Regions from separate parts of the Homo sapiens genome. Here regions 1, 2 and 3 are each linked to region 4. Evidence: promoter capture Hi-C in 16 types of primary human blood cells and fetal thymus (Javierre and others, 2016). All regions are on one chromosome and are shown on one strand. The core of a region is centred on a gene start or on the middle of the fragment in contact, and the rest is flanking DNA. Distances in the headings are between cores, read along the strand shown.

What was found. The method cuts DNA at HindIII sites, captures the fragments that hold promoters and counts their contacts. A CHiCAGO score of 5 or more calls a contact.
Region 1: a contact is called between a fragment that was not itself captured here and the fragment with the promoter of BPIFA3 in region 4, in 1 of 17 cell types (naive B cells). The highest score is 5.4, in naive B cells.
Region 2: a contact is called between a fragment that was not itself captured here and the fragment with the promoter of BPIFA3 in region 4, in 3 of 17 cell types (M1 macrophages, M0 macrophages and naive B cells). The highest score is 7.3, in M1 macrophages.
Region 3: a contact is called between a fragment that was not itself captured here and the fragment with the promoter of BPIFA3 in region 4, in 2 of 17 cell types (M1 macrophages and M2 macrophages). The highest score is 6.6, in M1 macrophages.

Annotation. Positions count from the first base shown.
Region 1 is chr20:32,880,804-32,887,828 of GRCh38, reverse strand. EFCAB8 (EF-hand calcium binding domain 8) reads right to left here. Exons shown (of 27, transcript NM_001143967.2): 6 at 2,189-2,324. Among named protein-coding and RNA genes, the nearest start is that of EFCAB8, 25 kb to the right of the region's middle. RefSeq lists an enhancer at 1-834. The HindIII fragment of the contact is 4,347 bases long and covers 2,666-7,012 here.
Region 2 is chr20:32,921,109-32,928,231 of GRCh38, reverse strand. All of the region lies in intron 20 of EFCAB8 (EF-hand calcium binding domain 8), which reads right to left. Among named protein-coding and RNA genes, the nearest start is that of EFCAB8, 66 kb to the right of the region's middle. The HindIII fragment of the contact is 1,581 bases long and covers 4,271-5,851 here.
Region 3 is chr20:32,942,939-32,950,180 of GRCh38, reverse strand. It overlaps EFCAB8 (EF-hand calcium binding domain 8), which reads right to left. Exons shown (of 27, transcript NM_001143967.2): 23 at 6,377-6,545. Among named protein-coding and RNA genes, the nearest start is that of SUN5, 58 kb to the left of the region's middle. The HindIII fragment of the contact is 687 bases long and covers 3,558-4,244 here.
Region 4 is chr20:33,214,638-33,221,084 of GRCh38, reverse strand. BPIFA3 (BPI fold containing family A member 3) reads right to left here and starts at 3,733. Exons shown (of 7, transcript NM_178466.5): 1 at 3,422-3,733. The coding sequence starts at 3,548. The HindIII fragment of the contact is 14,014 bases long and covers 1-6,447 here.

The sequences.
Region 1 (7,025 bases), core at 3,590-6,089, 330 kb after region 4:
GCATTGAGGGTGGTGCCCAGCACTCAGTAGGAGCTCAGCACTGGTGCATCCTGCACTCGTGTAGCATGTGCACAGACAGAATGTGAGCTGGCACTCCAGGCAGGGAAAGCCACGAGCAGAGCCAGGTCAGCAGAAATGAGCTGCTGTGTCCTGGGGAAGAGGGAGGCCAGCCCACTCGGCTTAGAGTTGGAGAGGAACCAGAGATGAGGTAGGTGTGGCCACCTAAGGAATCTGTATTTTACTCTCTTTTTATTGAGACGGAGTCTCGCTCTGTCGCCCAGGCTAGAGCACAGTGGTGCGATCTCGGCTCACTGGAACCTCTGCCTCCGGGTTCCAGTGATTCTCGTGCCTCAGCCTCCCAAGTAGCTGGGATTACAGGGGTGCGCCACTACGCCTGGCTAATTTTTGTATTTTCAGTAGAGACGGGGTTTCACCATGGTGGCCAGTCTGGTCTCAAACTCCTGACCTCAAGTGATCCGCCTGCCTCAGCCTCCCAAAGTGCTGGGATTACAGGCGTGAGCCTCCGCGCCTGGCGCTGTATTTTACTCTTTGAATGACACCACAGGCTCTGAACTGAAGAAAGCAGAAAGAAGTACGATCTGAAAAGCTGGGAGGAAGGAGCAGGGAGGAGCGTAAACCAATTCCTCTAGATGGATAATCAGAAGGGATAGGGAAGGCAGGGGCAGAGAGGAGCCTGTTCCATCAGAACTCAGAGAGCACCAAGAGCACAGAGGACTGCGCTCTCGGGCTCCCCAGGTGGTTCTGGCGGTGAAGACAATGGACCAGAACCCTCCTAAGCCCCTCTCTCCTGCCCAGGGCTGGAGTCTAACCCCCACACACCAGTAGCTTGGTAACTCCCAACCCTTGCACTATTCAGAGAAACCAAGAGCCCTAGGGAGTTTCAGTGACCTGCACCCAAGATCACATAGCTCTTGAGTGGAACTCAGGCCCCGCCTCAAACTTGAGGTGTCTCCATCTGCATGACAGTGGGTGTGTGGTCCTGGGAGGCCTACTCCTGCCAAAGCGGCCCCTCCAGGAAGAATCCAGGCCTGCTGCGCCTTCCCAGAGAGCCTTCCTCTGTCCCCTTCAGCCTTTGGAGGTGCTTTGGTGACCATGTAGCAGCCACAAGCAGGAGCTCTGTCTGCAACACACCCTGCCCCAGTCCACACACAGAAAGGTAAGGTGGATGGCTATGGAAGCCACAGCCTCAGGATGGTGATCGTGACTCCCCCTTGGTGCACCAAGGAGAGCCATGGGACCCCACAGACCCTAGTTCCACCCAGGCCTCTTCTTCCCCAAAGGATGAGCCCTGATGCAACTGTGAATCACTCTGCAGTTACACAGGCTCAGAAAGCCCTTCATCTGGGGGCTGTGTTCTCAATCAACCTTTCTGTAGAGCCCTGGAGAGCAGTGCTTTCCTCGTCTGCTGGAGGATTCTGGACGGCCCTGGCGACCAAGTACACAGTGGGTTCTCCTGAGCATCTTCTCACTTACTACTCTCAGCCAAGAGCTGGCAGCACAAAGACAATATATCCAGCAGGGACTTGCTGCGTGCCCTGCCCTGCCCCAAGCACTACACATGTATTATGTCATCATGTGTTCCCAAAAGGACTGTAAAGAAGCACTGTAACTAGCCCCATTTGACAGATGGGAAAACTGAGGCACAGGGAGTATATAGTACCTTGTCCAGGTCACAGAGCTTGCAGGTGGTACAGTTAGGACTCTGACCCTGGGATTTGGGCTCCAGAGCCCATGCTCATAACCACTATGATTTCCTGCCTGGACTAGGCAAAAGGCCTGAATCGGTAGGACGTGGGGACAGCGTGGGAGTGGCTGACCCCTAGCACAGGAGTCTTGGGGATGACAATGCCATTCACTGAGATGGGGACGCAAGAGAAGGAAACCTGGTGGGCAGGGACAGCTAAAGGGACACCTGTTTGGGCTAATGGATTTGAGGGGCCTGTGAGACACCCACAGGGAATGGACATCCAGGTGGAATCCTGCTTAGCAGAAGGGAAATGTGTGGCTCCCACAGTGAAGCCAAGTCAGGACCCAGGTGCTGTGACTGCAAGTCCAGGCTGCTTAGACCATGAATCTGCCTGGCTCCAGGTCACCTTCACCATGGGGGTGCTAAGGCAGAGGCTCTCCAATCACCCATGTGTGCACCATGTGTAGGGGCCCCACTCACCCTAAAGGAGCTCATCAGCGAGAAGGACTCAGACCAGAACTGCAGGATCCCGTCTTTGGTGACAGTCAGGAAACACCCGATCTTCTTGAACCGGTGGATTAAAAACACCACCTTCACCACCTCACAGCCATGGTTCCTGTGGGAGGCGATGAAAGAGAGAAGAGCCCAAGCAAAAACAGCTCAGGGAGGGGGCACCTGCGGCAGAACAGAGAGCCACCGAGGAGGAGGGACAAAAGCCGGCGGAGCGTCACGCACACGCACGCACATGCGCACGCCATAAACCCATAGCTGGCTCTTCCAAGCGGGTTTCTACTGGATCATCAACAGTGGCCAAAAGAAAAAGGGCCCCACGTAGAAGCTGATATGAGGCGGGGCTCCAGAAGTGAGAAGCAGCAGGCTTATCCTGCGAAGTAGCCAGCCAGCCTCCTCGCGACGTGATGGGACAGAGGAGACAGAACGGAGGTTGTTCGCAAAGCTTCTATCATAGGAAAAACTGCCCAGGAGAGGGTGAGCAGAGTGGAGCCTGAGGCTGAAAACTGAGAAACAGCACTTTCTAGCAACTGCTCTAGTGCTCTGGGGTAGAGGGGGGAACAGAACCGAAGGATGAAATCAAAGTGGACAAGGAGCAGTGGGGAATTAGGGTCCCACACACCAAACCTACAGCCAACAGCTCCGGGGGCAGGCCTGGCCTCGCAGGAGGCCGCCCTTGAGCATTCATACAGGCTTTGATGCTCCCCTCTGTGGGTTGCTTCCCTGCACCCAAGTGGGCTAAGCCAGCTATCTGGCCATTGAGAGTCCCTGCCACTCCAGCTTCCCAACATGGCATGGCATGGCACACACTCTCCTACTTGATCTGCCCAATCTTTGAGCCCTGGCAGAGCAGGTGATATTACCTCATCCTACAGGGGCCCAGGGAATAATCATTTGCCTGGAGTTATGTCCTATTTACTAGCAGGGCTGGAACTAGAACCTAGGCACTGTGACCCCTCCTCCAGGGCCCTTTCCAAATCCGGTAGGCCTGGTCTGACCCTGGGCTTAAGGATAACCCAAGCCACTGTGAAAATTCAACTGCCATTACCATCTCTGCAGAAGAGCAAGGGAAACGTGTCTGGACACGGTTCTCCTCTCTCCTATCCTCAGCCCATGGCTCTGGGTAGATTGTGATGAATATTCTCAGTTGCCCTCTCATCTCTTCCAACCCTGCCACTTCTGTCAGGGCCAAAGACTGTGCAGAATGGGATGATAGGTGACAGCTAGGAAAAGGGAAGACAGCCCTAAGGACAGGCCATCTCAGGGAGGACTTGGTTTCCTCACCTGCATGATGACAGCACCTGCACCTCCTAGGGCTGTGATGGGATCAGATGAGAGGCTGCATTTGGTGCACCCGGCCCAGGCTCAGTAAAGGTAAGCCAATGTTTTAAGTTACTCTTTCATGAAGGTAATTAAATATTACTCATTTATTTTCCCCACCAAGTTGGAAATGCTCTCCGGGTTTGTAGGTTGAACAAATAAATAGGAGAATATAGGAACAAGCCTCTTGACATTCTGTTTCAGGACCTTTAAACACCCTTGAGATCTAAATGGCCCAAAGAAATAGAAAGACCTGACCGGGCAGAGTGGCTCACGCCTGTAATCCCAGCACTTTGGAAGGCTGAGGTGAGTGGATCACTTGAGGTCAGGAGGATTACTTGAGGTCAGGAGGCGGGCAGACCACTTGAGGTCAGGAGTTCAAGACCAGCCCGGCCAACGTGGTGAAACCCCATCTCTACTAAAAATACAAAAATTAGCCAGGTGTGGTAGCACACGCCTGTAGTCCCAGCTACTCAGGAGGCTGAGGCAGGAGAATCGCTTGAACCCGGGAGACAGAGGTTGCACTGAGCCAAGATTGCGCCACTGCACTCCAGCCTGGGTGACAGAGTGAGACTCCGTCTCCAAAAAAAAAAAGAAATAGACCAGTGAAGGCTTGACCTTATTAAGCAATGTGTTCATGCCAAAATGTACAGTTATGTATTTGAACATACTTCATGTTCAAATGGTTGCTTTTATCTGATTGTATCATGGGAATGAACACTATATCTAATTAGGGAATGTCTCCCCTTCCTACTGCTATAAAACAGAGGTATGTAAATCGCCATTCAAGCTATATGAACTGGACATGCTACATGGGAACCAGTAAGATTGCCCAGGCCCACACAGTGCAGAGTAGAAGCTAGAGAGCTGGCAGGGACAAATTCTCCACTGGATAGCCCTCTGTGGAGCATTTCCTGGGGCTTACGACAAAAGCCTGTAAGCGCCTCCCGGCAACAGCTACTGGGACTTTGGACTAGGGAATGTCCTCTTGAGGGGCATTTACTACCTTGTTATGGGACATTAACTGAAGCTACCCCTACGACTGAAGGATATAAAATTATCTTGAAACCTGAAATACCCAGATGTCTTGGGTGATATCAGAGAAATGCTCTAATGGGGCCTACAGAGGCCAGAAATTCCATAATAAAATGGAAATGGTTGGCCAGGCGCAATGACTCACACCTGTAATACCAGCACTTTGGGAGGCCAAGGCAGGTGGATCACCTGAGATCAGGAGTTCAAGATCAGCCTGGCCAATACGGTGAAATCCCGTCTCTATTAAAAATACAAAAACTAGGCCAGGCGCGGTGGCTTACGCTTGTAATCCCAGCACTTTGGGAGGCCGAGGCGGGCAGATCATGAGGTCAGGAGATTGAGACTATCCTGGCTAACATGGTGAAACCCCGTCTCTACTAAAAATGCAAAAAAATCGCTGGGCATGGTGGTGGGCGCCTGTAGTCCCAGCTACTCGGGAGGCTGAGGCAGGAGAACGGCATGAACCCGGGAGGCAGAGCTTGCAGTGAGCCGAGATTGCACCACTGCACTCCAGCCTGGGCGACCGAGCAAGGCTCTGTCTCAAAACAACAACAACAACAACAAAAAATCGGCCAGGCGTGGTGGCGGCCACCTGTAATCCCAGTTACTCGGGAGGCTGAGGCAAAAGAATCACTTGAACCCAGGAAGTGGAGGTTGCAGTGACCTGAGATGATGCCACTGCATTCTAGCCTGGGCCACAGAGCAAGACCTTGTCTCAAAAATAAAATCCCAAAAAATAAATACAATAAAATGGAAATGGTTTACTCAGCATCTTGCTACCTGGGGAATGCAAGCAAGAGATACTCACAGGCTATGAGCCTCTTTACCCCAGGACTGATTCCGGAACTGTGTGAGGTGCTGCTGGGTTCTGTCGACACTTGGACAGTGTGCCGTGAACAGCTATCAAGTGACCAACGAGGAAATGCTGGGTTTACAGTTTCAAAGTGAATGGACGATATTCTGTTTGGAGGGCTGCCACTTGCAGCAAAGAAGGTAGAAACTGATCAGCCTCAGTGGGCTGAATTGCATTTGCATGCTGTTTTTTTTTTTCTTTTTGAGACGGAGTTTTCATTCTTGTTGCCCAGGCTGGACAGCAATGGCGCAATCTCGGCTCACTGCAACCTCTGCCTCCTGGGTTCAAGCAATTCTCCTGTCTCAGCCTCCCGAGTAGCTGGGATTACAGGTGCCTGCCACCACATCCAGCTAATTTTTGTATTTTTAGTAGAGACAGGGTTTCACCATGTTGGCCAGGACTCCTGACCTCAGGTAAGCCACCCACCTTGGCCTCCCAAAGTGCTGGGATTACAGGTGTGAGCCACCATGCCTGGGCAGGGATAATTTCTAAGCAAGAAACAGTCACCATGTTTTAAAACGTTGTCAGAATTCCCTAAGGGCCTGATGGGGGTGGATTGCGCCTTCATCCCATCTGGCAAAATGGGGGTTAAAAATAAATACAGCTATATTGTCTCATGGTAAAAATGGCTCGCGAGTTTGGAACTCGTGTAACCCTATTCTCTATGAATGAGAATGGACTGAGGGGAGGCACTCGCTACAGTAGCTTTGCTACCAATGATCCAGATAGGCACAGTGGCTGAACCCGATGTCCCTTGCAAAGGAGGAAAAGTTTGGGTAAAAATAAATGACAAATGGAGAAAAGGAGGAATACTAGCTGAGGGTAAAGATTAATAAATGGATTAAATGGAGAGAAATCCAGTATTACACCAACAACTCGAAGGAGTTCTCAGAGCAAGAGATGACTGGCTGGATGCGGTGGCTCACGCCTGTAATCCCAACACTTTGGGAGGCCGAAGTGGATGGATCACTTGAGGTCAGGAGTTCGAGACCAGCCTGGTCAACATGGTGAAACTCCATCTCTACTAAAAACATAGAAATTAGCTAGGCATGGTAGCAGGTGCCTGTAATCCCAGCTACTTGGGAGGCTGAGGCAGAAGAATCACTTGAACCCGGGAGGCAGAGGTTGCAGTGAGCTAAGACCGCACCACTGCATTCCATCCTGGGCAACAAGAGCAAAACTCCATCTCAAAAAAGAAAAAAAGAAAAGAGAGATGACATTGTCTCTTAGCTCAATGATTCCAGATGCCTGAGAGGTTTATTTGCCAAGCCAACTCCGGCTTTTGGAACCTGACAAGATTGAAAGGAAGCCTACAAACCTGAATGGCCTCAGCCTGGGAGACATTCATATACTATGATGGATGGGATGAATTATTAATGACTAAATGGGACTCTAGGAATGTGCCAGTATCTTTTGAGTTGTGTATTCTTTTGCTATAAGGGAGCTGTGTTCTCTATGTTCAAAAACCAGGAGTGGGGGCCTGTGGTGTTTTATATATATATATGTTTTGCCCACAGTTCCTAACTCCCACAGCCCCAGAGTCCTGCCCTATGCCCTAGGGGCAGGAATGCTGATGTCATGAAGCTTCCACTAAAAACC
Region 2 (7,123 bases), core at 3,812-6,311, 290 kb after region 4:
AGTTGCATTTCTATACACTAACGTTGAACAATCTGAAAAGGAAATTACAAAAATAATTCCATTGACAATAGTGTCAAAAAAAGAGTAAAATACTTGGGAATTAATCAAAGAGGACATTATGCTAAGTGACATAAGCCAGTTACCAAAAGACAAACATATGATTCCACTTGCATGAGGTAGAATAGTCAAAATCATAAAGACAGAAAGTAGAATGGGGGTTTCCAGGGTTTGGAGGGAGAGGGGAGTGGGAGTTATTTTTTAATGGGTATAGTTTCAATTTAACAAGATGAATGGATAGTGGTGATGGCTGCACATTATGAATATATTTACTACCACTGAACCATACACTTAAAAATGGTTTCAATGGTAAATTTTATGTTATGTGTATTTCACTACAAGAAAAATTTTTTGAAAAAAAGAAAAAACAGGAATCCCTGAACCAAAGACAAAGGGCAAGCATTTCCCCCACTTTATGCAAGTGCTCACTGTACAAAATGTGGGCAGCATAGACATATGAAAGGAAATTAAAATCACCTACAAAATCCCAGTACCCAGAAATAATCACCATTAAGACTTTAATGTATTTTGGCCAGGCATGGTGGCTCTCGCCTCTAATCCCAGCATTTTGGGAAGCCAAGGCGGGTGGATCACCTGAGGTCAGGAGTTCAAGACCAGCCTGACCAACATGGTGAAACCCTGTCTCCACTAAAAATACAAAAATCAGCTGGGCATGGTGGCGGGCACCTTTAATCCCAGCTACTCGGGAGGCTGAGGCAGAAGAATTGCTGGTACTTGGGAGGCGGAGGTTGCAGTGAACCAAGATCACGTCACTGCACTCCAGCCTGGGAGACAGAGTGAGACTCTGTCTCAAAAAAATTTTAAATTAAATAAATAAATAAATAAACAAATCATGGTGAATCCAAAGAAATACACTGCAGCCAGTGGCAGATTTACTCGTGAAGTTCATGAAGCTCAAGGCTAAGTTCAAGTTTAAGTTCAAGGTTCTAGGAAAGAACTGGTAAGTTCTGGTGACTTTTGTAATTGTCAGATTTATAAGTTTTGAAATTTGTTGACACTTTTTTCTCATTCTAAATAAATATTCACTTTTGTACCTAATTTTTTATAATTTTGTGCATTTTTCTTGCAAAAGTTTTAGGCTCCAAAAAACCTAGATAGGTCCCTATATAAAGCTATTAAAAAGAATGAAGTGGTATACCCAAAGGACTATAAATCATGCTGCTATAAAGACACATGCACACGTATGTTTATTGCGGCATTATTCACAATAGCAAAGACTTGGAACCAACCCAAATGTCCAACAATGATAGACTGGATTAAGAAAATGTGGCACATATACACCATGGAATACTATGCAGCCATAAAAAATGATGAGTTCATGTCCTTTGTAGGGACATGGATGAAATTGGAAATCATCATTCTCAGTAAACTATCGCAAGAACAAAAAACCAAACACCGCATATTCTCACTCATAGGTGGGAATTGAACAATGAGAACACATGGACACAGGAAGGGGAACATCACACTCTGGGGACTGTTGTGGGGTCGGGGGAGGGGGGAGGGATAGCATTGGGAGATATACCTAATGCTAAATGACGAGTTAGTGGGTGCAGCGCACCAGCATGGCACATGTATACATATGTAACTAACCTGCACATTGTGCACATGTACCCTAAAACTTAAAGTATAATAAAAAAAAAAAGAATGAAGTGGATAGATTATTATGTGCTGAGAGGAAAAACTGTCCACCACAAATTGCAAGGTTTGAAAAAAAAAAAAAAGCAAACAGCTAAATAAACAATAGTTTCAAACGTTCTCAGTTTTGTTTGAAAAATCAAAACCATAAAAAAAAATTTAACGTGCACACAACTTTCACAGTAGTCATTAACTGTCATTTTAAAGGATGTGCTTTAAATTTTGTCATAAGCACATTCCAATGATTAAGTATTTTTCTAAAATGTGGTTCCTCATAACTGCACAGGATTCACCAAAGTGATGCACCACAAAGTTCTCCCATGTCTGAACTGGGGAAAAGCTGAGGCATCCTTCCCAGCCATTCCTTTGCCAGCCCTGGGACGGTGAGAGCAGGTAGGGTGAAGGTGAATGAGCGCCCAGGACTTCAGCAGGACTGGAGAGGGGCGGCCTGCTGAGAGCACAGGGTCAACTGCGTAGCCAGCATCCGGTGCTCACAGTGAGAAAAGCACAGTCAGAATGGTGGCCCTAGGCAGGACAGAGCCGTGTGGCTGCGAGGGACAGGTAACCAACACTATTCCTTTTGCACTCTGCATCCAGCCCCATCCAATACATTGCCCTGCTCATTTTGGAAAGAGCTGCTGGACTGAAGGTGAGCATTTCAGTCTCACTCAGCCCAGGAATCCCAGATAGTATCTCAACCACAGCGGGTTAATGGCCTCCCTGTGGGTCCCTTCAGAAGGAGCCATGGCAAGCTACTCACGGGCTAAACTTCATGTAACTTGGAGCAATTTTCTACTGCGTGCCATCTGGTCCTTCCCTACTGGGGAGATGGCCAGGGGCAAGTGCTTCATCTAAAGACTGTCAGGGGCTGGGCGCCGTGGCTCACGCCTGTAATCCCAACACTTTGGGAGGCTGAGGCAGGAGGATCACTTGAGGCCAGGAGTTCGAGACAAGCCTGGACAACATGGCAAAACCCCGTCTCCACTAAAAACCCAAAATTAGCTAGGCGTGGTGGCTTACGCCTGTAATGCCAGCACTTTGGAAAGCTGAGGCAAGAGGATCACTTAAGGTCAGGAGTTCAAGACCAGCCTGGACAACATGGTGAAACCCTGTCTCCATTAAAAACACAAAATTAGCCAGGTGTGGTGGCACACACCTGTAATCCCAGCTACTCAGGAGGTTGAGGCACGAGAATCACTTGAACCCAGGAGACAGAGGTGGCAGTGAGCTGAGATCACGCCACTGCACTCCAGCCTGGACAACAGAGTGAGACTCCATCTCAAAAATAAATAAATAAGTAAAATTAAAAATAAAGACTGTCAGGGACACAGCTGGGCCTGGATCTGCATCCTGGACTCCTTCCTAGTGCTCTTTCTGCCATGCCTCACAGTCTTCTGGGATGGCCAGACAGAAATAATGGGAAGGAAGACCCAACAGGTAAGACCCCCACCCACTCCCTGTCTGGTGTCCTTACCCCAGCCCACCCAAGCCTCTCTTCCACTAAGGAAAGGCTGAGATCAGAGATGACCCAAGCACTCTGGACCCTCTCCAGGGCACCACCCTAAAATGCTTCACTGTGCCCACAAGTGCCCCAGAGAGAAGGGACCCTGCTCCTCAAGGAGTGGTGCGGGTGGGAGACAGTACATCTTGAAGCCAGGGGTGAGGGTCAGCATCCAGAGGGGACACACACACACACACAGCCCTGCCAGCCACAGTGCCTCAAATCTCACCAATAGACATTCAATCTTTTGCATGCAATTCTGTGGCCAAAAATTCAATCAAGATTCATGATACAAATCCTTATTACACACAGATCACCAGGCCACGTAAAAAGCCCAAGGAATTCCCAACAGTGGCAGCACAAAAACTTAAAAGAACTTGAACTTTGAAAACAAATAGACCTAGAATCAGGCCCTGGCTCTGCCATTTTCTGGCCATAAGAATCTTGGGCAAGTCACTTCACCTCATTGGGCCTGTTTCTTCAGCCATAAAATGGGAATAATAATAATAGTACATTCTTTTCAGATGTATTAAACATTCTTTTCACATACATTCTTTTCAGATGTATTAAATAAATAAAAATCCCTCATAAATAAATAATAATAGTACATACTTCCCAGGGCTGTTTGATGGACAAAATAAAAACAACACATGTAGCTGGGCATGGTGGCTTATGCCTGTAATCCCAGCACTTTGGGAGGCCAAGGCAGGAGGATCGCTTGAGCCCAGAAGGTCAAGACTAGCCTGGGCAACATAAGGAGACTCCATCTCTATAAATATATATTTTTTTAATGAGCCAGGCACAGTAGCACACACCTGTGGTCCCAGCTATTAATACTCAGAAGGCTGAGGTGGGAGAATCGCTTGAGCCTGGGAAGTGGAGGCTACAATGAGCTGTGATTGTGCCACTGCACTCCAGCCTGGACAAGAGAGCTGAGATTCTGTCTCAAAAAACAAAAAATAACACATGTAAACCATTAAGTTCATTGTCTGGCAGATATTGAGAGCTCAATAATTACTAGCTACCACTGAAACATAATGCAAGATAGCAAAAGCTTTCCAGGAGTATGTTTCTAATCCTAGAGTTTTATATCTGGAAATAGACAAGAGATCCAAAATTTATGTACAAGGGTATTCATTGCAATGCTTTCTATAGAGGCAAAACCCAGCGGCAGCAGATAGCTATACAGACTCTGTGCAGTGTACCCAGGACATGATGTGACTAGTAAAAGGAATGCCATGGCTCCGTAAACACCGTCATGAAGAGATGCCCGTGAGGAGTCAAGTGAAAAACAGCAAGTCCCGGAATAATACATGCAATATGATATTATCCAGTGAAAAATATCTAGATTTATATATATACATTCATACATGTATGTACTTGTATATGCACAAAAAAATTCTAGAAGGCTACAACACATGTCTTAACGTAATTACCTCTGGAGGCTGAGGAGGGAGACAGCCATTCTTTTACTTTATACACTCGTATAAAGTTTCATTTTTTTTCATAGGTGGTGGTGGTGGTGTTGTTTTGGAGGCGAATCTCACTGTGTCACCCAGGCTGGAGTGCAGTGGCACGATCTCAGCTCACTGCAACCTCCGCCTCCCGGGTTCAATCAATTCTCCTGCCTCTGCCTCCCGACTAGCTGGGACTACAGGAGTATGCTGCCACCCCTGGCTAATTTTTTGTATTTTAGTAGAGACGGGGTTTCACCGTGTTGCCCAGGCTGGTTTCGAACTCCTGAGCTCAGGCAATCTGCCCACCTCAGCCTCCCAAAGTGCTAGGATTACAGGTGTGAGCCATCGCACTGGGCCAGGTTTGTTTGTTTGTTTAAGAGACAAGGTCTAGCTGTGTTGCCCAGGCTGGAGTGCAGTGGCACAATCACAGCTCACTGCATCCTTGACCTCCCAGACTCAAGTGATTCTCCCAACTCAGCCTCCCAAGGAGCTGGGTGCACCGTGCACACTATCAAACCTGGCTAATTTTTTTAATTTTTTGTAGAGATGAGGTCTCATCATGTTGCCCAAGCTGGTCTAGAACTCCTGGGCTCAAGCAGTCCTCCCACTTTGGCCTCCTAAAGGACTGGGATTACAGATGTGAGCCACTGCTCTTGGCCTGAATTTTTTTAGTTTTAATTAAGGACATGTATCACTTTCTAATTAGAGGAAGAAAGTATCAGAGAGAGATACAGAGAGAGAGAGAGAAGTACTCATTCTCGAACATTCCATGCCAGCTCTCCCATGTGGGCCCTTGCACCTACCTTCTCTGCCTGCATCACCCTCCTTCCAAATAACTGCAGGCCATGTTTCCTCGCTTCCTTCAGGCTCTATGCAGATGCCACCTCCTCTGTGAAGCCCTCCCTGACCAGCCTATTCATAAAACAGCAATGCCATCTCCTCCCATGTCTGTTCTCCCTGCCATCTTCCCGGCTTTCTTGTCCTCCATTGTCCTCACTCACTCTGTGACATGCCCTTTATTTTATTTGCTGGTTAATTGTCTATCTTGCCCCAACTAGAATGACAGCTCCAGAGGTCAGGGGCTTGATATCTTTCATTCACTGCTCCTTCCCCAGCGGCTGGCATGTAGCGAATGCCTGTGTCCTGACAGCACTAGGTCACTAGCCCAAAAGATCAAGCTTTGAGCCATCTACCTTGACTTCACAGATTTAAAGAGATGGGATCTGTTGGCAATTCTGTTTCCAAGAATCCGTCCTCTCAATATACTCACACTAGTGCCCAGAAATGTACGTGCAAGAATGTTCAATGCAGTGCTGCTCCTAAAAGCTAAAAACTGGAACTAACCCACAGACCTATTCATAGAGGACCAGCTTCACAGTTCCTGATGCATCCAAGTTATGCAGCAGTGGGCAGTTGTTAAAAAGAATAAGATGGCCAGGTGTGGTGGCTAATGCCTGTAATCCCAGCACTTTGGGAAGCCGAGGCCAGTGGATCACCTGAGGTCAGGAGTTCAAGACCAGCCTGGCCAACATGGTGAAACCCCGACTCTACTAGAAATAAAAAAGCAGCTGGGCATGGTGGCACATGCTTATGGTCCCAGCTACTCTGGAGGCTGAGGCAGGAGAATCACTTGAACTCAGGACGCAGAGGTGCAGTGAGCTGATATCGCAACACTGCACGCCAGCCTGGGTGACAGAGCAAGACTCCGTCTCAAAAAAAAAAAAAAAAAGAATAAGGTAACAAAAGAATAAGATGAATCTAAATCCCTCTCATGAAAGTATATCCATGCTATAGACTTACAGAAAAAAGCATATGGCAGGACATAGCTATCATTTTATATTACTAGTCAAAAAAAAAAAAGTACAAGGCTAAAACCAACCTGTTAGCAGCGAATGCTGCTGTTGAGAGTGGGATGGGATAGGGTGAGTGAGATATAGGGGACTTTTATTTTTATTTTTTCATTTACATACACTTCCTTTTTTATTATAAACTAGTATTATTACTTTTAAAAGTTATCTAAGGTATTTTTTTAAAGAGAAGGAAGAGGCTGGGTATAATGGTTCACATCTGTAATCCCAACACTTTGGGAGGCTGAGCCAGGAGGATCACTTGAGCCCAGGAGTTCGAGACCAGCATGGGCAGCATAGTGAGACCCCATCTCTACAAAAACACACACACACACACACACACACACACACAAAATAGCTGGGCATAATGGAGCATGCCTATAGCCCCAGCTACTCACAAGGCTGAGGTGGGAGGGTCCCTTCAGCCCAGGAGTTGAGGCTGTAATGAGCTGTGATCACACCACTGTACTCTAGCCTGGGTGACAGTGAGACCCTGTCTCAAGAAAAAAAAAGGAGAGAGAAATAATCAGAACCTGGAGGAGAGTGTGCAGCCACTCCTGCTCTCCCTCCCAACACTGCAAAACCCAGCTCTCAGGGCACTGCCC
Region 3 (7,242 bases), core at 2,652-5,151, 270 kb after region 4:
AACTTGATATTTTATGAATCATGCTCTATCGGTGTTGCATGCAAACAATCTTTGCCTAAACCAAGGTCACAAAGGTTTTCTCCTACGATTTCTTCTGGAAGTTTTAGTTTTAACTTTTGCCTTTAGTTCTATGTTCCATTTTTGTTGTTGTTGTTGTTGTTTTGTTGTTTTGTTTGTTTTTGAGACAGAGTCTTGCTCTGTTGCCCAGGCTGCAGTGCAGTGGTGCGATCTTGGCTCACTGCAGCCTCCGCCTCCCAGGTTCAAGCGATTCTTGTGCCTCAGCCTCCCGAGTAGCTGGGATTGCAGGCAGGCACCGCCATGCCTGGCTAATTTTTTGTATGTTTAGCAGAGATGGGGTTTTGCCATGTTGGCCAGGCTGGTCTCGAACTTCTGGCCTCAAGTGATCTTCCCACCTCATCCTCCCAAAGTGCTTGGATTACGGGTGTGAACCATCATGCATGGCCCATTTTGAATTGCTTTTTGTATGTGGTGTGAGGTGTGGATCCAAGTTCATTGCTTTAAGACTGTCTTTTCTCCACTGAATTGCCTTTGCACTTTTGTCAGAAACAGATGTCCATATATGTATGGATATATCTCTGGACTTTCTGTGCCATTCCATTGATCTGTCTGTCTGTCTCTATGCCATTACCACACTGTCTTGATTACCATGGCTTCACAATAAGTCTTGAAATCAGGCAATGTTAGCCCTTCATCTTAGTTTCCTTTGCCAAAGCTATTTTGACTGGCCTAAATAAATTTTAGAATCAGTGTGTCAATTTCTACAAAAATTCTTCTGGGATATTGATTGGTATTTCAGTTAACCTATAAATCAATTTGGAGATAATTTTATTCTTAATCAGAGAGTCTTCTACCCATTAACAGTAAATCTTCTATACTTTGTCTCAGCAATGTTTTGTAGTATTTTTCTGTGTACTTACATATCTTGGTATTTATGTTTTATGTTTTCGTAAATGTATCTTTTACTTCAATTTCTGGCTGTTCATTGCTAGTATATAGAAATACAATTGATTTTTTGTATTGATCTTGTATCCTGCAACCTTGTTAAACTCCTTACTAACTCTTTTTAGTAAAATCCACTGGATTTTCTACATAGACAATTAGTCAACTACAAATAAAAACAGTTTTATTTCTTCCTTTCCAATCTGAATGCCTTTTTTTTTCCTTCTGTAATTGCCCTCTACTCTTCTAGTATAATTTTGAATCGAAGTGACATGTCTTATTCCTGGTCAGGGGAAAGTACTCAGCCTTTCACCATTAGGTGTGAAGCTAGTTTTAGGTTTTTTCACAGATGCACTTCCTCAGGTTGAGAAAGTTTTTTCTATTTTGCTAAATGTTTTTTATCAGAAATGGATGTTGAATTTTGTCAAATGATTTTATTGTATCAAGATAATCACATAGTTTTTCACTTTATTAATATAATAAATTACACTGATTTTCAAATATTAAACCAACCTTGTATATCTGGGGTAAACCCTATGTGATCATTGCTGGATTTTATTTGCAAAATTTTGTTAAGATATTTTGTATTTATGCTTATGAGGGATATTAATTGATAGTTTGCTTTCTTTTCCTTTCTTTTCTTTCTTTCTTTCTTTCTTTCTTTCTTTCTTTCTTTCTTTCTTTCTTTCTTTCTTTTTCACTTTCTTCTTATAACGTCTTTGTCAGATTTTGGTACCAAGTTGCCTCATGAGTTGGGAAGTATTGTACCCTTTTCAACTTTCTGGAAGAGTTTCTGTAGAATTTATATTATTTCCCCTTCAAATATTTGGGTAAAATTCACCATGGAAGCCATTTAGGCCTGGAGGTATCTTTGTAAGGAGAGTTTTAAACTACAAATTTAATTTCTTTGATATAAGGATATTCGGGTTATCTGTTTCTTCTTGTGTAAGATTTAGTAGTTTGTTTCTTTCAAGGAGTTTATTTCATATAAGTTGCCAAATTTATTGTATAAAGTTGTTTATAGTATTTCATTGTTATCCTTTTAATATCTGTAGAATCAGAAATGATGTCATCTCACTCATTCCTGATATTGGTAATTGGTGTATTCTCTCTCTTTTTCCTGCCCAGTCTAGCTGGAGGTTTATCGATTTAACTATCTTTTCAAAGAACCAGCTTTTGGGTTCATTGATTTTCCTTATTATTTTTTACTTCCCTGTTTCATCGATTTCCATTCTAATCTTTATTATTTCTCTTCTATTTACTTTGGGCTCAATTTGCTCTTTCTTTCTAGTTTCTTTTTTCTTTTTTTTTTTTTTTAATTGAGATGGGGTCTTGTTATGTTGCCTAGGCTGGTCTTGAACCCCTGGGTTCAAATGATCCTCCCACCTGCCTCCCAAAGGCGTGAGCCACCGCACCAGACCTCTTTCTAGTTTCTTAATGTGGAAGTTGAGGCTGGAGATTTGAACTTTTTTCCTTCTAATATAGGCATTTAGTGCTACAAATTTCCCCGTTACTACTGTTTTTTGTGGCATCTCATAAATTTTGAAATGTTACATTTTCATTTTCATTCAGTTCAAAATATTTTCTAATTTCCCTCTGGATTTCTTTTTTTGGCCCATGGGTTATTTAGAAATGTGTCATTTAGCTTCCAAATATTTAGGGATATTTCAAAGATATTTCTGTTTTTGATTTATAATTCAGTTTCATTGGGATCAGAGAACATACTTTGTATGGCATAAATCCTTTTGAGATTAGTGAGATGTGTTTTGTTACCAGAATATGGTCGGTTTAATTAATGTTCTGTGTGCACTTAAAAATAATGTTTGTTTATGAATGATCTATAAATGTTAATTAAGTAAAATTGTTTGATAGTGTTATTCAAGTATTCTATATCATTAATGATTTTCTGTATAGTTGTTTTATAAATTGAGAGAATATTGAAATCTCATGCTACAATCATAGATTATTAAAATTTAAAATAATAACAGATCAAACACCAAATGTTGATGAAGACACAAAGGTAGAAATGCAAAACAGTTTGGTCATTTTTCATAAAGTTTCAATACACTTACCATACAACCCAGCCATTCTGCTTCTAAATACTTACCCAACAGAAATGAAAACAATGTTTAAAGCGGCTTCATTCATAATCATCCAAAACTGACAATGACTCAAATGTCCTATAATTGGTGAATGGATTAACAAACTATGACAGAGCCATACAGTGGAATAATACTCAGCAATAAAAAGAACAAACTACTGATACGTTCAACAACAAAGATGAATCTCAAATTGATTATGCTAAGTGAAAGTTAGACTTTCACTCAGCTACATGTGTATGTTTCCATTTATGATAATCTGGAAAAGGCAAAACTATAGAGACAAACAGATCAATGGCTGCCAGGGGTTAGGAGAAGGAAATAGAGTTTACTATGAGGAGACATGAGGTCACTTTTTGGGGTAATGTCTATGTCTTGATTGTGATACCAATTACACAATTGTATGCATTCATGAAACCTCACAGAACTATATACTTTTAAAAGGTGCTTTTATTGGATGTAAATTATACTTCAGAAATCTGATTTTTAAAACAAGCTTCTAAAAGATAACACTAGATATTATATTTAGGGGATAGTCAAAGACGTCTTTGAAAGATACAAAAAAATGGGTGACATCAGCAAGATGGTAGAATAGGAAGATCCAGAACTTCCTTCTCCCTATGGAGACACTGACTGAACAACAGTACATGGACCAGAAACCAGGACCATTCATCCCAGATGAATGAAAAAACAAACAAACAAAAACCAAAAAAACAAAAAACAAAAAACCAGCTGCACTGAAGCCAGTAGGAAAATTCATAGTGCTCACTTGTAATCCCTCCTCCTGGCTCAGTGAAGCAGATTGGGAAGGAACCACCAGCTTCCAGCTTCTCCCTGGGAGGGAAAGACTGAGATGTACATCCAACATGCAGACTTTTCAGAGGGCTGCATGATTAACCAGTTTCTGTCTTGCCTGAATCTAAGCACTGACAGGAAGAGGCACCAGACTGGGCTACTAAGAACAAAGGTGACAATTTAGACTAGCACACACTATCAGAGTCCCTCCTGCCGCTCTGTGGAATGAGTAGAGAAAACAACCCAACTTCCAGCTTCTCCTTGAGGAGGCAGATTTGGAGCATACATATCCAATGTTAGCCTTTGAGGGGTACCCAAGAAACTGGTTTCTGTCTTGCCTCTCTCAGACTATTGAAGGACCCAGCATATTCTAGAGGCCTGGGGGAAGCTTGTAGCCGCTCTAGAGAACTTGCAGTACTGCAAATAGACACCAGAGAGAGCAAGAGATAATGGACTCCTGAAAAAAATAAACCTGTAGATTCCTGTAATTGCGAATTTACATGCGTAAGTCTGGTGAAAGTATCCACAAAAAAGATTGGGGAGGCACCCAGAATCTTTAGCCAAGCTGATTGGTGCAGAATTTTCCCTGAATGAAGCCAGTATATAAAGACTGGGAGAGGTGGCTGATTTTACAAATGCATGGATCCCAATATAAAGTTATAAGGCACACAAAAAAAATAGGAAAGCATGGCCCAAAGGAACAAAATAAATCTCCAGAAACTGCCGCTAAAGAAATTGAGGTATATTAATTATTTGACAAAGAATTCTAAGTAACCGTAATAAAAATGCTCAACAAGCTCAGGGAAACAATACATGAACAAACTGAGAATATTAGTGAAGACACAGAAAATATAGAAAAGAACCAAACAGAGGCCAGCCATGGTGGCCCACACCTATAATCCCAACACTTTGGGAAGCTTAGGTGGGCGATCACTTGAGCTCAAGAATTCAAGGCCAGCCTGGGCAACATGGTGAAACTCTGTCTCTACAAAAAATACAAAAAATTAGCCAGGCATGATGGCATGCACCTGTAGTCCCAGCTACTCAGGAGGCTGTGGGAAGATCACTTGAGGCTGGGAGGTCAAGGCTTCAGTGAGCTGAATTCGTGCCACTGCACTCAACCCTGGGTGGCAGAGCAAGACCCTGTCTCAAAAAATAATAATAATAATAATAAAAATAACAGAAATTCTAGAGCTGAAGATGAAGAGTAAAATAATTGAATTCAAAAGTCATCTACAGCAGGCTTGATCAAGCAGAAGGAAAAATCAGCAGACTTGAAGATATCCAGTCAGAGAAGCAAAAAAGAAAAAAGAATTTTAAAGAGTAAAGAAAACTTAAGGGATTTATGAGACATCGTCAAATGGACAATATATGCATTATGGTAGTACTAGAAGGAGGAGAGAGAGACAGAGAGAGAGAAAGGGACAAAAAGCTTATCTGAATAAATAATGGCTGAAAATGTTTCAAATCTTAAAAAGGAAAAGAAACCTATATTCAAGAAGCTCAAGGGATTCCAACTAGGATAAAGTCAAAGAAATCCACAAGGAGACACATTATAAAAAGAACAAAAACTCTCATCCAAAAATACTATATCCAGGAAAGCTGTCCTTTAAAAATGAAGGAAAAATAAAAATTTTCCCAGATAAATAAAAACAAGAGGAGTTCATCACCATTAGACCTGCCTTTAAAGAAATGCTAAAGGGACCCCTTCAAGTTGAAACAAAAGGATGCTAGGCAGGAACATGAAAGCATATGAAAATACAAAGCTTTCTGATAAATGTAAACACATAGAAAAATACAGAATGCTGTAATACTGTAATAGTGGCACATAAGTCACTTTATTTTTATTATTATTTTTTTTTTAGACAGAGTCTCACTCTGTTGCCCAGGCTGGAGTGCAGTGACATGATCTCAGCTCACTGCAACCTCTGCCTCCCAGGTTCAAACGATTCTCCTGCCTCAGCCTCTCAAGTAGCTGGGATTACAGGCATGCACCACCATGCCTGGCTAATTTTTGTATTTTTAGTAGAGACAGGTCACTAAAACAAACAAACAAACACATAGGAAGACAGCACAGGAGGAAAAGGGGACAAAAAAGTGTTGGGATTACAGTAGTGAGCCACCGCGCCTGGCCCTAATTATTTCTTGACATGAACGGTGGCTATATGGGTATGTATTTACTTTCTCAAAATTCACCAAGCTGAACCCTTCTGGTTTGTATGTTTTTCTTTATATACAATGCAACAATTAAGTTTATTTTTTAAAAGAGAAAGGAATATGCTTTATCAGATATATGATTTGCAAAAATATACATAGGTGAATAATATTGGGTGGATGGGTGAATGGATGGACCGTTTGCTGAATGGATAATTGGACAGACTGTAATATTATTTAAGTGAAGGCAGTTGCTGTGGCCTGAGAGTCCCTCCCCACAGAGTACAAAGTTCATACCAGCTTATGTTCAGACAGGGACAGAGACAAGAAGGGCCATGGGCATGGCTGAGCTTCAGCAGGACCCATACCAATGGCATCACCGGAGAGTTTCCAAGCCTTGACGTCCCGGTCCTGGCCAGCGCTGATAACCAGCTGGAAGTTGTCCACATACAGGATGTCTGCCACACTATTCAAATGGCCTTTCCAGGTCATCAGGAGCGTGGGGGGAACCAGGGAAATGGTATGGCCAGCCACAACCTATAGGGGACAGTACAGGAGAAACACTTTTACCAAGACCACTACACAGGCTAATTAGAAGGCACCCAGGACTGCAGGCAGCAGAGCCCAGTTGGAAGGGCCCTGGGACACAGGCTAGCGTTCTAGTTCTAGATGCATTCCACATGAACTTGCTTGCGACCTTACATAGGTCCCGGCACTTCTCTGGCCCTCACTGGCCCCTTAGGTAAAACCATAAAAAGAACTTGCATTTACTTTCTCAAAATTCACCAAGCTGACTACATATGACTTGCATATGACTTGCATATGACTACATTGTTTACCAAGTGCCTCTGTACACATTATTCCATTTGAACCTCACAACCTTATAAGAAGTATATAATTCTCACTGACTTACAGAGGAGAAAAGTGAGAGTCAGACATGTTCAATAACTAGCCTAAGCCCACATAGCTAGAAAGTGATGGGGCCAGGGCAAGAGCCTCAGTCTTCTAAAGTTTTTCAGCTGGGTATTGGGAGATGAATAGGGTGAGCAATGGGGTGATAAATCACATTACACTGAGAGAATAAAACTACTGAACTGGAAAATGAGTGAAAATGACCATTTTTAAATAAAACAAGATTAATAAAGGAGGACTTATTCGACCATATTCAAGTATGGAAAGTCAGAATAATAAACTTTAAATTTTAAACAAAGCAATGGAAGACAATAGAAAGCTC
Region 4 (6,447 bases), core at 2,484-4,983:
TATTAATACAATTTATCATTTAGTAGGTTGGAGGAAAAAAGTGATTAACTTTTAGATGCAGAGAAACATTTGTTAAAGGTCAATACTGACTTATGAGTAAGAAAAATTCATAAAGCTAGGGGCATAAGGAACAGGCTTAATGTGATAAACACTATATTCCAAAAACCCACAGAAAATTTACTTGTAGGGGAATTCTGGATTAATTTCCATTCCTGTAGAAGGCTCTGGCTACAATGCAAGATAAGAAAAAGGCACAGGAAGTGTCAGGCTTAGAAGAGAAAAGATAAAGCTATTACTACTTATGGACAATATAATCCCCTAGATAGAAAAACCTACAGAATAAATAAAACAATAAAAATATAAGAGGTCAGCAAGGCTTTTGAATATCAGAAGAAGTCAACAGCTTTCCTTCCATCTGTACCTGCAATTCCAACTAGAAAATATAATAGAAGATTAGGTAGCATTTACTATGGCAATGAAAACTATAAATTCTCTGGGAATCATGTTAATAAATCATGCTCAATACATTGATAGGACTTTAAAATTCTCTTATGGGATATATAGTAAAATCTGAATAAATGGAAAGATACACTAAATTTATGATTGGGAAGTCTAAAATATCAACTCTCTTTAAATTAACAAATTCATTTTAACTCCAATCCAATTTCCAGCCTTATTTTTTTTTTTTAGATGGAGTCTTGCTCTGTCCCCCAGGCTGGAGTGCAGTGGCATGATCTCCACTCACTGCAAGCTCTGCCTCCCGGGTTCACGTCATTCTCCTACCTCAGCCTCCCGAGTAGCTGGGACTACAGGCCCTCACCACCACGCCCGGCTAATTTCTTGTATTTTTAGTAGAGATGGGATTTCACCGTGTTAGCCAGGATGGTCTCGATCTCCTGACCTTGTGATTCGCCCACCTCAGCCTCTCAAAGTGCTGGGATTACAGGCGTGAGCCACTGCGCCCGCCCTGATTTTTTTTTTTTTTTTAAGAGACAGGGTCTTTGTTGCCCAGGCTGGAGTGCAGTGGCACAATTATAACTCATTGCAGTCTCAAACTCCTGGGCACAAGTGATCCTCCCACCTCAGCCTCCCAAGTAGCTGGGACTACAGGTGTGTGCCACCATGCCTGGCTAATTTTCTAATTTTATTTTTGTAGAGACAGGATCTTGATATGCTGCCCAGGCTGGTCTTGAATTCCTAGGCTCAAGCGATTTCCCACCTCAGCCTCTTAAAGTGCTAGGGAGCCACCGTGCTCGGCCAGACGAATTTTTTAAAGGAACTCAACACACTCTAAAATTCATTTGGAAGAATATAGGTCTGTCAGATAAAACAGCATTTTACAAAGATGTTGTATTTACAATATTATGTTATTGGTGTAAAACAGATGTACAGATACAGCATAGGGAGTTCAGCAGTGAATCCTCATTTTTGGGAATTTGATCATTTAGTAGATGAGTTGGGGAAACTGAGTCATATGGAGAGAAGCGAAGCTGAATCTCTGCCTTACATACACAGGCATACATAAAGATAGCCTCCAGAGATGGGTTAAAATCTTAAATGTGAAAGGTAAAACTATAAAGCTATTAGAAAAAAACAAAGTAGAATATGTCTGAGGTAGGAGCAAGGTCTTAAGACTTTCCAAACACAAACTATAAAACAAAATATTGATGAATTTGAAAATATTCCTGTTCAGTGAAGGACCTACAAAGTTAACAGATGACAGTTTGGGAGAAATATTCACAATGCATAAATCTGACAAAGGGCTAATGTCAAGAATTAAGTAATGTCTCTTCAAGTCAAAGAGGATTAAAAAAACCCAGAAAAGCAAATTTAAAAATGGATAAAAGGTAAGAACAGGGAATTCAAAGAAGTCAAAATGGGGCTGGGCACAGTGGCTTACACTTGTAATGCCAGCACTTTGGGAGGCCGAGGTGGGTAGATCACTTGAGGTCAGGGGTTCGAGACCGCCTGGCCAACATGATGAAACCCCATCGCCACTAAATATACAAAAATTAGCCGGGCATGGTGGCATGCACCTGTAATCTCAGCTACTCAGGAGGCTGAGGCAGGAGAATTGCTTGAACCTGGGAGGTGGACGTTGCAGTGAGCCAAGATCATGCCACTGCACTGCAGCCTGGGTGACACAGTGAGACTCTGTCTCCAAGAAAAAAAGTCAAAATGGTTAACAAAAGTATAAGATGCTCAAACTTCCCACTCACCAGATAAAGTCAAGCTAAAACAAGTAGTTATCACTCAACTACACATCAAACTGGCAAAAAAAAAAAAGTAGAAAAATAGTGTCATAGATCAAATTGTGCCCTCTCCTCCCCCAGTGCGACTGTCTTTGGAGATAGGGCCTTTAAAGAGCTAATTAAGGTTAAACGAGGTCATTAGGGTATGGCCCTAAACTGATGGGATTGGTGTCCTTATAAGAAGAAACAGATCTCTTTCTCTGCATGCACAGAGAAAAGGCTGTATGGAGACATCGAGAAGGTGTCCGTCTGCAAGCCAGCAAGACAGGCCTCACCAGAAACCAACCCTATTTGCATCTTGATCTTGGACTTCCAGCCTCCAGAACTGTGAGAAAATGAATGTGTGTTGTTTAATTCCCAGTCTGTGGTGTCTTGTGAGGACAGCCCTAGCTGACTGATACAGCTCAGTACTCGGCAGTGCTGGGGAACATGGGGAGACAGGTATGCTCATTTCTTACTGGAGCACGTGTAGACCACACAGCCATTCTAGAGAGGATTCTGGCAGTTTTGGTTAAATTGAGTTCACCTCTACCCCAGGACCCAACCACTCTCCTTCTGGGTTTATCCCAGGGAAATTCTCCCACAGGCTGTAACAGGGACACTTGCAAGGAGGTTCATCTCAGTGTAGTTTATAATCATGGAGAGTTAGAGACAACCTGCATGTCCATCCAGAGGGGAGCAGCCAAATAAACTGAGGTGGATGAATCTTATGGCTCTTTCTGCACCAGCTGAAGCAACATAGATGTCAACAGCATAGTGCTGAGTGAAACCCAACACTATACAATTTATGTAAATTAAAGTACAATACAATTTATGTAAATTAAAGTACTGTACATACAAGGACACAGGCATATTTAAGTACATCCATTAAACACGCTGCAATGCCTGCCAAGGCAGTAGGGATATGGGGTGAGAATAAGTCATAAAGGGGGAAAATAAGAAAATAAAACAAAAGGGGGACCTTGCAGTGATTTGTGCCAATGAGGATGTGCTAGAAATTGGCATATGATCAACACAACCTCAATTTTCTGTACTTGAGGTCTAAGAAAAAGAGAAGAGGGAAAGTGACTAACCTGAAGTCACCCAGCGGGTTAGCAGTGGAGCCCAGATGGCACCTTCCCACCTCCCCAGCCCCGTAGGCAGCAGGCAGAGCCCGGGGCTTAGCTTACTTCTTGCCAGGGTGGATTTGTTGTCTCTGTGGGCTTGGGCCAGGCCAGGCCAAGGCTGCTTGTGTGGTGCCAAGGGCAAGGCCAGCAACCCGAGGAAGATGAGGAGCCTCCAGAGTGGACACATCATAGGGTCTGGGACCTGCAGATGTCAAGAGTGTCAGATGGGGCCTGGGCAGACGGCTTTGAGGGTGGCAGTCTGGAGGGATGGTCTAATGGTTTTCTGCAGAAAGATGACATCAGAATTAGCCCCCAGCATGCTGTGGGGAGGGGCTGCACTGGACCCTGGCGCTGCCACCAGGGCTTGCTCACATTGGGAGAGCAACATGTGGAACCCTGGGAGGAGGCCAGGGCTCCAGAGGGAGGCCTTGTTGCTTGGAGACACTCACCAGAGTCTATTGTTGGGTCATCCAACAGGAGTCCTCTCCCAGACCCTGGCACAGGCTGGATGTTAGTGACTCTTTAGTGAACCAATGAATGAATACATTTGAGTGAGGATGGCTAACCCCAGGCTCTCCAATTGGGTTAGGACTTTCTTAAGGGCATGACCAACCACTTCAATCCCTACCACGATACTTGCTTGTCAGAAATTGAGTGTTAATGAATGTTTGTTGAGTGACCAAACGACTGAATTGATGAGTGGAGATGGTTGATCTCTGAATCTCCTCTGAATTATGAGTTTCTTGAGGGCAGGGTATGAGTCTAATTAATCCTCATGTCTACAGTGCCTCCCATGTTTGCCACATGGTAAGTACTGGTGAATGTTTGTTAATGCTACAAATGAATGAATAACTGGATGGATGGATCTTATCTTTCTGGATAAGAATTACAGACTCTTGAAGCCAAAGCATCAGGTTGACCTTGGAGCCCTGGGGTTGGGATTCAGAGAGAATTCAGTTTAAGTCCCCTGTCCTCACTCTTAGGAAATGGTGCCAAGTCCATCTAGTTGTTCTACTCCCAGCCGGTGGAGCTGCCCTTTCCTCCCCTTTTCCCATCTCCCACAACCCATCTGTCAGGAGATCCTGCTGACACTTCCAGAACATGACCACATATAACAACTACTCCTCAGCCACCATCAGCTTGATCTGAATTATTGCCAGTGGGTCCCGGCTGGTTTCCCAGCTTTTAACTGTGCCCACCCACAATCTCTTCCACACAGCAGCCTGAACAGTCATTTTAAGATGTAAGGTAGGCCGGGTGCGGTGGCTCATGCCTGTAATCCCAGCACTTTGGGAGGCCGAAGCAGGCGTATCATGAGGTCAGGAGTTCAAGACCAGCCTGGCCAACATGGTGAAACCCCGTCTCTACTAAAAATACAAAAAATTAGCTGGGTGTGGTGGCACATGCCTGTAGTCCCAGCTACTTGTGAGGCTGAGGCAGCAGAATCACTTGAACCCAGGAGGCAGAGGTTGCAGTGAGCTGAGATCACACTACACTGCACTCTAGCCTGGCAACAGAGCAAGACTCCAACTCAAAAAAAAAAAAAAAAAAAGATGTAAGGTAGACCACCATGCCACTCCTCTGCTCAAAACCCTCCAGCATTTCCTACTGCACACAGAGCAAAAGCCACATTCCATGCAACACCTCCCAGGCCCAGGAGGGTCCCTGCATCCTCTTGGACCGCACTGCCTGCAGCTCTCTCTTCCCCACTCCACTGCAGCAGCACAGGTCTCGGATGTCTGGGCCCCACCTTGCCATTGCTGTGAGCTCTGAGACAAAGGCGTTTGTCACTGTCCCTGTGCTGTTTCCCCATACTACGGGCGACATAGAGGGTCCCATGTGGATGAGGGATGGGAACGTCCTTTGCAAATTTCACAGAAGCCTTGGGGCTATTCTTGGGCAATTCACTCTGGTTTTGTAAGAGATTGTACTGAGAAAGCCTTGGTTCAGGGTGTTGGCTTTCCCTGTTTGAGGTCCTTTCTCAGAGTTCATGCTCCCCTTGGGGATGTTTGTAGAATATCACTTACTTCAAAATGTATTTTTCTAGCCTTCCTGGTCTTATGTAAGTGGTTGGAATTTTGTTATTTATTGTCAAGAAAACAGAGAAGAGTGGGCATTGTCGGGAGGAACAAATCTGTTGTCCTTGGCTCTTTGGACATCTTAACATGGGGCAGGAGCTGTTGGTCCTACCTCATCACAGGCTGTGGTTCTCAGGGCCACAGAGCCTAATGAAAGGACAGCATGGAGGGTATAGATTTTCAGAGCTTGATGCATGACAAGAGAGAGCAGATTTGGAGGGATGAGAGGGCCCTGCTCAGGGGCTGGGGACTGGATTTGAAGCCAACTCGGTGCAGGATCACATGCAGTCCAGAGTATGTGCTTTAGGGTCACGCAGACCGGGGTTCAACTGCTGACTCTGTCTCTTGGCAGACTCAGCTCCCAGGTCTGTAAAAGGATCACAGTGCAGACCTCAGAGCTATAGTGAGGATTAAAGCGAATCATGCTTGGGCCAGTCCTCCAAAACCATGTTATTATGATGATCCTCCTCCTTGTCCTTACGCCTCTGAGCCTTCCTCACCTGTAAACCAGGGAAGCTGATGGAGTCAGTGACATGGAGCATGAGAATCCCAAGATGGTTCCTGGGACACGTGTGCAATGAATGCAGGAGCCACCTCTATCAAGTACTTTCACGAATGAAATGCAACTCCAGAAGGCAGGCAGGAATGATAGAGAGGCTGAGATGGCAGTGAGGGTGTGATGGTCCTGGAGTGAGCTTGCGCGTGGCTGTTCAGATGGTGGGCTTTGCTGTCATTCATTCAATGAATAAAACCACTAAAATCAATGAACACTGAGTGTCAGGAGCCGTGGGCTCTGGGGATCCCACAGAGAGTGGTCAGGCAGGGTCCTTGTCCTCATGGAGCTCACATACCAGTGGGGAGACACACAGTCTTCAATTATCCCTGCAACTGAGCATATGATTATGAAATATGGCCCAGAGGTGAAGGAGGTGGGAGGTACTGTGAGAGGGCACAGGGAGGGGATACCTGGCCAATGGGGGAAAAGGGATGTCAGGAAAAAGACCTCCCTGA